Regions from separate parts of the Homo sapiens genome. Here region 1 is linked to region 2. Evidence: promoter capture Hi-C in 16 types of primary human blood cells and fetal thymus (Javierre and others, 2016). All regions are on one chromosome and are shown on one strand. The core of a region is centred on a gene start or on the middle of the fragment in contact, and the rest is flanking DNA. Distances in the headings are between cores, read along the strand shown. Region 1 overlaps SGMS1 (sphingomyelin synthase 1). Region 2 holds the start of MAPK8 (mitogen-activated protein kinase 8).

Evidence for each region. Contacts are between HindIII fragments. The CHiCAGO score rates a contact against its expected background, and 5 or more counts as called.
Region 1: a fragment that was not itself captured here is called in contact with the fragment with the promoter of MAPK8 in region 2 in 1 of 17 cell types (total CD8 T cells); the score reaches 5.5 in total CD8 T cells.

The regions. Positions count from the first base shown.
Region 1 is chr10:50,610,955-50,614,539 of GRCh38, reverse strand. The region is part of intron 1 of SGMS1 (sphingomyelin synthase 1); the gene reads left to right. Among named protein-coding and RNA genes, the nearest start is that of SGMS1, 11 kb to the left of the region's middle. The HindIII fragment of the contact is 1,703 bases long and covers 646-2,348 here.
Region 2 is chr10:48,305,075-48,309,246 of GRCh38, reverse strand. MAPK8 (mitogen-activated protein kinase 8) reads right to left here and starts at 2,570. Exons shown (of 12, transcript NM_001323329.2): 1 at 2,426-2,570. RefSeq lists a silencer at 1,990-2,939. The HindIII fragment of the contact is 3,503 bases long and covers 855-4,172 here.

The DNA.
Region 1 (3,585 bases), core at 248-2,747, 2.3 Mb before region 2:
GTTCCTGGATACTGTCATGCTGCTGGTCTGGGGACCACTCTTTGCCAACCACTGCCATCAGCAGTGCCCATGTCAGCGAGGAGCCAGCTGCTACTACTTCTAGTTACAGTCAGGTGGGATGATTTCAGATTTAGACATTGGAAGTGCCTTCCGCCTCATGAAATAAAAACTGAACTCATGTGGTCCTGTTTATCTAGGACAGCAGAGGGGTGTCTGAGCCAGTCCAGAGCAGAAACTTGCTTTTCCTGCTCACCAGTGGTTCTGGCATGGCTCAGGAGAGATGATCCCAAGGTGGAGAGAAAACTTGGAAATATAAGTCAGCACTCATTAGAAGCTTGGAGTGCCATCATTACATCCCATCTTAGGAAGATGGCCTCATTTATTTTTGTTATTTTTCATTCCCCCTTCCATTGGCAAAAAAAAAAAAAGAAAGACTTCCTGTTCACCACTTATCCCCATGGAGGAATTTAGGCACAGACAAATTAAAAGTATATTGAGATACATAACCTGACAGTGGAGAGGCAGAAGATAATCTTATTTGCCTAGTTTAATTATAGCAGAAAACTGTGTTTGTAGGAAAAAAGAGCTTTGTACAGCTTTCCTCCAGCTGCCACGAGGTCACATAGCTACAATGTGTACCAAGCTTAGTACAGCACCTACACACATTAAGCTCTCAAGAAGTATGAATAGTTATTATTATAGCAGAAGTTTTCTGTCTTGCAATCCAGGCTACACTTTTTCCTATTTGAAAGAATGTTACATATATAAAACCTCGGGACGAAAACCTTTTATAATTTAAATATTTTGTAGGAACTCAGGATTTAGAAAGAACTCGGAGGTGAACAATACAAGTAAGTTGTATTTGGGAAGGAACACTGGTTTAGATTTTTCTCTGTGCTAGTTATCAGGACTCTCCTGTGACCCTGTCAGCCTGTAACAGCTCGTTTGCTTGGTGAGGGAATGTGGCAGGGCAGAGAGGATGGGGGGATTGCCAGGGGCCGACTGAAGAGGCTAGAGAGGCCTGTTCAGGTGTGGAGACACTCTCCAGTCTGGTCATTTTATAACTCAGGGTTGACAGTGGCAGTAAATATGTGTTGAAAATCCCCTATGGGCCAGTTTCCCTGGTGAGCTTTGAGATACAGAGATGAGTGCGATGGGGTCTGGGTCTTTGAGGGATTAGTGGGGAGACAGACATGTCCACAGATGATGTCATCACCAAGTAGTGAGTACAGTATCAAAGCTGCACACCTAGCCTCCCTGGGTCAGGGGTGGGATGACTGGACAGAGGTCACCTGCCCAGTTTCCCTGTGTCAGCAGAGTGCACAGAAGGGAATCCATACCATAGGTCAGTGTAGATGGAGCCAGAAGTGGCATTTTTTTGGTTTTTATTTTCTTTTGTTTTAGGGTTGAAAGCCACATGAGGTTTTCATTTTTAGTGACATAATCCTGACAGCAGAGACAAGCCTAGGAAGATGTGTGCTATAAGTGGTCAGCCCCCAAAGGGAGAATCAGAGCTGGGACTGCACTTCAAAACTACTTGGGGAGTTACAAGAGTACTTAAGAGTTTACTTTCTTTGTTTTTAAAAAACGTGGCTATGAGGTCAGGAATTCGAGATCAGCCTGGCCAGCATGGTGAAACCCCATCTCTACTAAAAATACAAGAATTAGCCTGGCATGGAGGCGCACGCCTGTAATCCTAGCTACTCAGGAGCCCGAGGCAGGAGAATTGCTTGAATCCACGAAGCAGAGGCTGCAGTGAGCCGCGATCACGCCACTGCACTCCAGCCTGGGCGACAGAGCGAGGCTCTGTCTCAGAACAACAACAACAACAACAAACAACAAAGTGGCTAAATGTTAGCTGTCTGCTAGGAATGTAAAACCTGGAGAAGATTAACGACTTTCTATCTTTAAGATAAATCAACTTTTAAAAGAAAGACTCTATTAAAAACAAAGTTTTATTTTATTTTCCCTGAATTTTTGGCTAAGTGTGAAATTCCCCTTTCATTTGTGTTTTCAGTGGTTCCAGTTCCTTGTTTTCTTTTTTCTCCCCTCCACTCCTCCTTTTCGCCAGCTGCTTATTATTCATTAACAAAAGAAGCTGATTTCAGCACTACCTTCCCCAGTCCTATTTAATTTCATGTCCAGACCACTTTATAGAAATAGCAATAAGCTGTTTGCATTTCCCAGGTTGTAATGGATATTCCTTCTGGCAGGCTGTCTCCATTAAGGGAGCAAAATGTGGATGTTCAGTCTTCTAAAAGTTTCATGCAGGTATTCTATGTGAATCCATGAAGACGGGATGTTATAACAAATCTCAGGTTAAGGGGTGGAGGATCCTCAGCTAAGCTTGGCAGGTGGAAGATGCTTAAATTTGGAAGGGAGTTCCCAATAGTCACAGATGGAGATGGAGGGATTGAAGAAAAAAGCCCTGGGGCAGGATGGTAGAGAACAAACCTCAAGAAAACTATCTCCTAAGGAAGTGGTGGGGAGGGCTAGCTGAAGTGGTACCCACCCCACTGGCAGGGGGCTGGGTGAAAGCAGCAGAGGCAGGAGAAATCAGGACTGGGAGGGAGATAGGGTGGGAAGGCAGGCTTTGCCCACAGCTTCTTTCCCCCTAACAGACACAGGCTGACAGTTTAGGCAGGAGTTGGAAAAGGGGATGGGGGGTGCCAGTGTGTCTGAGGCCAACAGAGAAGAGGAATGTTTTACTCCTGAGGAAACCAGGAGGGGAGAGGGAAGGGTGGAGGAAAGGCAGGGGGCAGCGGCAGGGATGAAGGTGCACAGGCAGGTGGAGGATGACTGGAGAGCAGAGATGCTTGGGATGCTGGAGAAAAGGCCATGGGACCAGAAGAGGATTGTGAAAGAAACAGTCTGTATAGAGGACCCACGGCCTTCAGCCCAAGTCAGGCTGTCCTGGTCATCTGAGACAGAGGCAGAGTAGGTGAGGGCAGTGAGGAAAGATGCTGCTGGCTGTCCAAGCACACTGGTGAGGTAGTAATGCAATTTCTGAGCCATTTGTAAGATGTCAGGACACCCAGGGTCTTCTAGATAACAGGAACTGGGAAGGCAAGGACCCAGGGGCCCTGATTTTGAAAGCCAGCTGAGGAGTGATGAAGAACAGTGGGCTTGGGTTTAAATCCTTTTGGGGCAGTGGCTTTCTCATGTGAAATGGGGATAATAACCACTCTGTCACAAGTGTCGTGGTGTGAAGACCCTTGGCGTGTGTCCACAGTAGTACAGGGTTGCATTCTGCAGTTGTTGAGGTGGCCTTGGGATGTGGCAGCAGAGGGTGACCCTGAGATTTCCTGTAAGAGAGAGTGCGTGTTGATTCCCTTTCCTCTCCTGGGTGGCGTGTTGACCATTCATTTGACTAGATGGACCATAAGTGAGATGGGCTATTGCACAGGCACTATCTGTACCCAGTTTTCTGGCCGTGTGTTGTCGAGATTTTCACCACGTGGACTGCATAGTCCCTTCCTCTGTGTTTCTACCTGATCTTATCCCAGAGCCTGTCCCTATTATTCCCCTGGCTATTAGTTCACTCTACACACCCCCAGACCCAAGTACACAGAATGTCCCCTGTAT
Region 2 (4,172 bases), core at 1,321-3,820:
ATACTAAAAACCGAAATATATACACTCTAACTGGTGAATTTTATGTCAATTAAATTGCAATAAAGCTATTTTTAAAAACCAACAATTTGGAAAACAAAGTAACACAACTCTGGTTCTTTACACAGCCTGTGAGCTACTGCCAAAGGATTGTCAGTAACCCCTACTAGAATCTGACATACCCTAACTAGGTAAAGCAATAAAACTTTGGTATCTCAAAGATTTTCAACCATCATCTTAAAAAAGTATTATTTTCTTATTTCTTCATTTCCACTTTACAGCAAATAATAAGAAACTCATTAGTTAACTCATTTCATATTCTTTCAAATACAAAACAAACGCTAAACTGTATTTAGTAAGTGGAAAAGAGCTTTAACTTCGATAAATCAATTATTTTGAGTTTTAGGCTCATATTTTGTACCAATTGTGTTAATACAAGTTAGAACTTAAAACCAAACATTTCAAGTAAACATTTCTAAAATATTAGAAATATTTCTAATAAAACATTTATGTGGTTTTGTCCTCAATTTTCCACAATAAGAGTCACCAAAAAACTTTCAAATAATATTCACAAAATTATAAATGCAATCATTTTAGACCCCTACTGAAATACCAGTTTATGAGTGCCTGTGTGTGGATTACGTACATGCACACACACGGACACACATAAACTAGCACATACACAGAAACACACACTCCACAACCTACTTTATTTATCATATTAAAAAAATATTTAGACAAGATTTTATTTTAGGACAGTGAATGACCTACACGTGATTCAAAAGCCCATGTCATCATAACAGATAATGTACATGAACTGACCATTTAGCCATCTGATGCGACAGTTGCATGAAGCTTCCAAAACTTTATGGAGAACATTACGGTTTTTTTTAAGGCTTGATTTTAAATATTATCAATTACAAAGAGCTTTTCATCAATCCGACTTTTATTGAACACTTACTATATTCCAGGCTAGGTGGTGGAGAAACAGATGCAAGACAGGCCTGCCCTCAAGGAAGTCCCATTTTGATTGCTTGCTTTTGTCAGGCACAGCACTAAACATGTTCACTTAGAGCATCTGACCTCCTAGGTTTAACGTTAACCACAGCAGGGGAATCTGAGGTAACCATTACAAATGACTGTAAGGCTGCAAGACTGGAAAAAATAAAATTTAGAAATAAATAAAAGCTGTTGTATATTTAGACCAAATCTAATTCTACTTCCTATTACACTTGAACTTCCAGATATACTGCTTAAAAAATGACCCAGAATATAACCATACCTTCCTTAACAGACATCACTTATGTAACTGTCTCATTTAAAGGTCCATCTATTATACTTCAGTCAAAGCATCCTCTTCCATGAAAGGATACTTTACCTTCACACCAAACCTCTTCATCTGAGTACGGTACTAAACAGCTGCTGAATGAATGAATGAATGAAAAAACAGATGTTCTAATTGCCAAGGAGGTACTTGCTGGATGCTTATCTCAAAACACAATGGACTGACGGACCAGAATTCTACTGGAAAGATCGCTGGATTTCAGAGGTAAAAATAGTAATCACTGGACAATGCCATGTAGTCAACATGTTATTAAATTCGCAGTAAAGACCAAGCAGGGAACTTTCAGAAATAAAAACGGAAAGTGTTCATCAGGGTACTTTAAAATGGACTTGGTTCTACCATCTCTGAATCGGGAACACAAATGCGAGACAAAGAGATGGGAGGGTGGGGTGAAAAAGTCAAAAGGTCACCACCGATGACCCTCAAGAGAAATGCGCGCTGACCACCGAAGCTCGGGCCAAGCTGGATGGACACCTCCCACCCGAGCCACGGGCCTGGGCTCTCTGCCCTGCAGCCCAGAGCTGCAGGCCACTCTGGCCCTTTTCAGCGCTGCTGCCTGCGTTCGCCCAGAACGTTAGCACAAAGAAAGCATCGAGAAGCAAAATACGGTCCCTATGGGCGCGGGGCAGGCTTGGGGACCTGCCGGCAGAAGCGCTCTCCCCGGCTCCCCGCCGCCCCGGAGGCAGCCAGGGCGCGGCGGGCCGCAAAGACACCTCCGTCCGACCCTTGCCGAAGTGTTTCAGAACTTGCCACCCACCCCCCCGCTCCATTTTCTTCTCCCGCCGCGGAGGCAGGACCCACGCGAAGAGGACGCGAGAGGACAGGCGGGCGGGGCTCGCGGCGGCAGGCGGGCTGGCGGGCAGCGGAGCGCACCCAGGTCCCGCAGCCCCACGCCCCCTCGGCTGGCCCCCGCCTCCGCGCCGCTATTGTTCCCGCGCCGCCCCCGCCCACCGCGCGCTCCCGCCCCCACTCCCAGGAGGGGGTTACGGCTGAGGAGAAGGCGGCGGCGGCGGCAGCGGCACAATAACATAAACACGACGGGGCCGCCTGCCGTCCCGGCCCTGCGGCGTCCGCCGCACTCACCCGGCAGCGCAGCGAACGGCGACAGGGAAGCCCGCCAGCGGGGACAGGGGCCGTCCGGGGTGGTCGCCGCGGCCGTTACCCAGCGCTGCTCGCGGCTCCGCAATCCAAGCCGCGTCGTCCGGCCTCGGCCGCTCGGCTGAGTAACAGAGACGCGGGCCGTCACCGCGCACGCCCGCGCACGTCATCGCGCAGGGCCCCGCCCCCGCGCCTCCCGAGCGGCCGGCGGGGCGGGGCAGCCCCGGGGCCCGGATTGCGGGGGCGGGGCCGCCGCCCGGGGACGGCGCTACTCCAGGGGTTACGAGAGGACTTGCGGAGGTCGCTTGGAGGCGGAGCCGCGGAGAGAGCCTCCGAGGGCTGTGGGTGAGGGGCGTGGCCTGGAGCGGGAGGGGCGGGCCCTGTGGCGGCACGTGGCGGCGCGTGGCCCCAGGGGACCGCATCTGGTTGGCGGCGGTAGCCAGGTCAGAGCTTAAGCCTTCGGGCCTCGTCGGCACAGGGTTGAAGGGCAGGTGCGCTTAGGCCTAACCTGCGCAGCGAACAGGCACCCCCTTCCGGTACACACACCTGAGTGATGAAGAGCTGGTTACCTTGACCGACAATATGTTCCATTCTGAGGACACCTGTCCGGGTCCCAGAAACCTACAGAGAGATAAGTGTTCTCTTCAGCTGCCCGGGAAAAGCTGCCTCCAGTTTTTCCAAAATCCACCTCCTCCGAGATTCCTTGCAAATCCACCTCTTCCCAGATTCCTTGCATTACCTGGTTTACTTCTGAGGCCCCACAAAGCGTGTAAATGTTACAGAAGCGATAAATTGACAAGTCCTTTAAATATCCAACAACGGGTGGAAAGGCGTTTGAACTACCTACACCATTCGGTAGAATACATTTTAGCAATTTAAATGCCATGTGTTCAAGGAATTCTTAACAACATAGGAACATGTTCACAATGTATCATTAAGAGAAAGAAGCAAGAAACAAGTCATATATAGAATGGTCCCACTTAGATACTATATATACACATAGAAAAAACCTGGAAAGAAATACACCAAATTATGTTAACAATGGTTCATCATTGGACTATGGAATAAAGGGTGACTTGGTTCTCGTTTATACTTTGGGTATTTTCTCATGTTTTCCGAGAGGAATAGTTATGTTCACAATCAGAAACAAGTAAGTTACTTTAATAATGAATATATAAATATTTGTTGAATAAATGAATGATTTCAGGTAAACTACTTTCCTATTACATGTGGGGCTGGCCTGTTTCTGGTGATTCTGAAAGGGAACATACAGATGATTATTCATTCATTCTCTTCCCATTTCCTCTCTCCCTCCCTCTCAACCTTCTTAATTTCCTTCCTGCCATCCTTTGTTCCTGCAATAATTATTTATTGCATGCCCATTCAGTGCCAGGCAATACAGTAGAGTTTACAGATTTAATCACTGTACTATGAAAGTAATAATAGTAAACGCAAAATTATCACTGTTTTATAATACAAATTGTTAAGGATACATAATACTATGAAACCAATTAATACACTAGTTAATAAGGCCAGAAAAGATTTCCCTGAGGAACTGTCACTTGAGCTGGGAATAGGTTTGACTAGACAGAGAATATTTTAGAGGTAGCTTTGCACGCAAAGGTCCTCTGATGAGATTAAGCAGGATAAGATGGAGAAATTCAGGAAAGGCCAGCTCTGCTGGAGGAGCAAGGAAGAAGGAGCTATGAGATGAAGTCAGGAAGATTGGTAA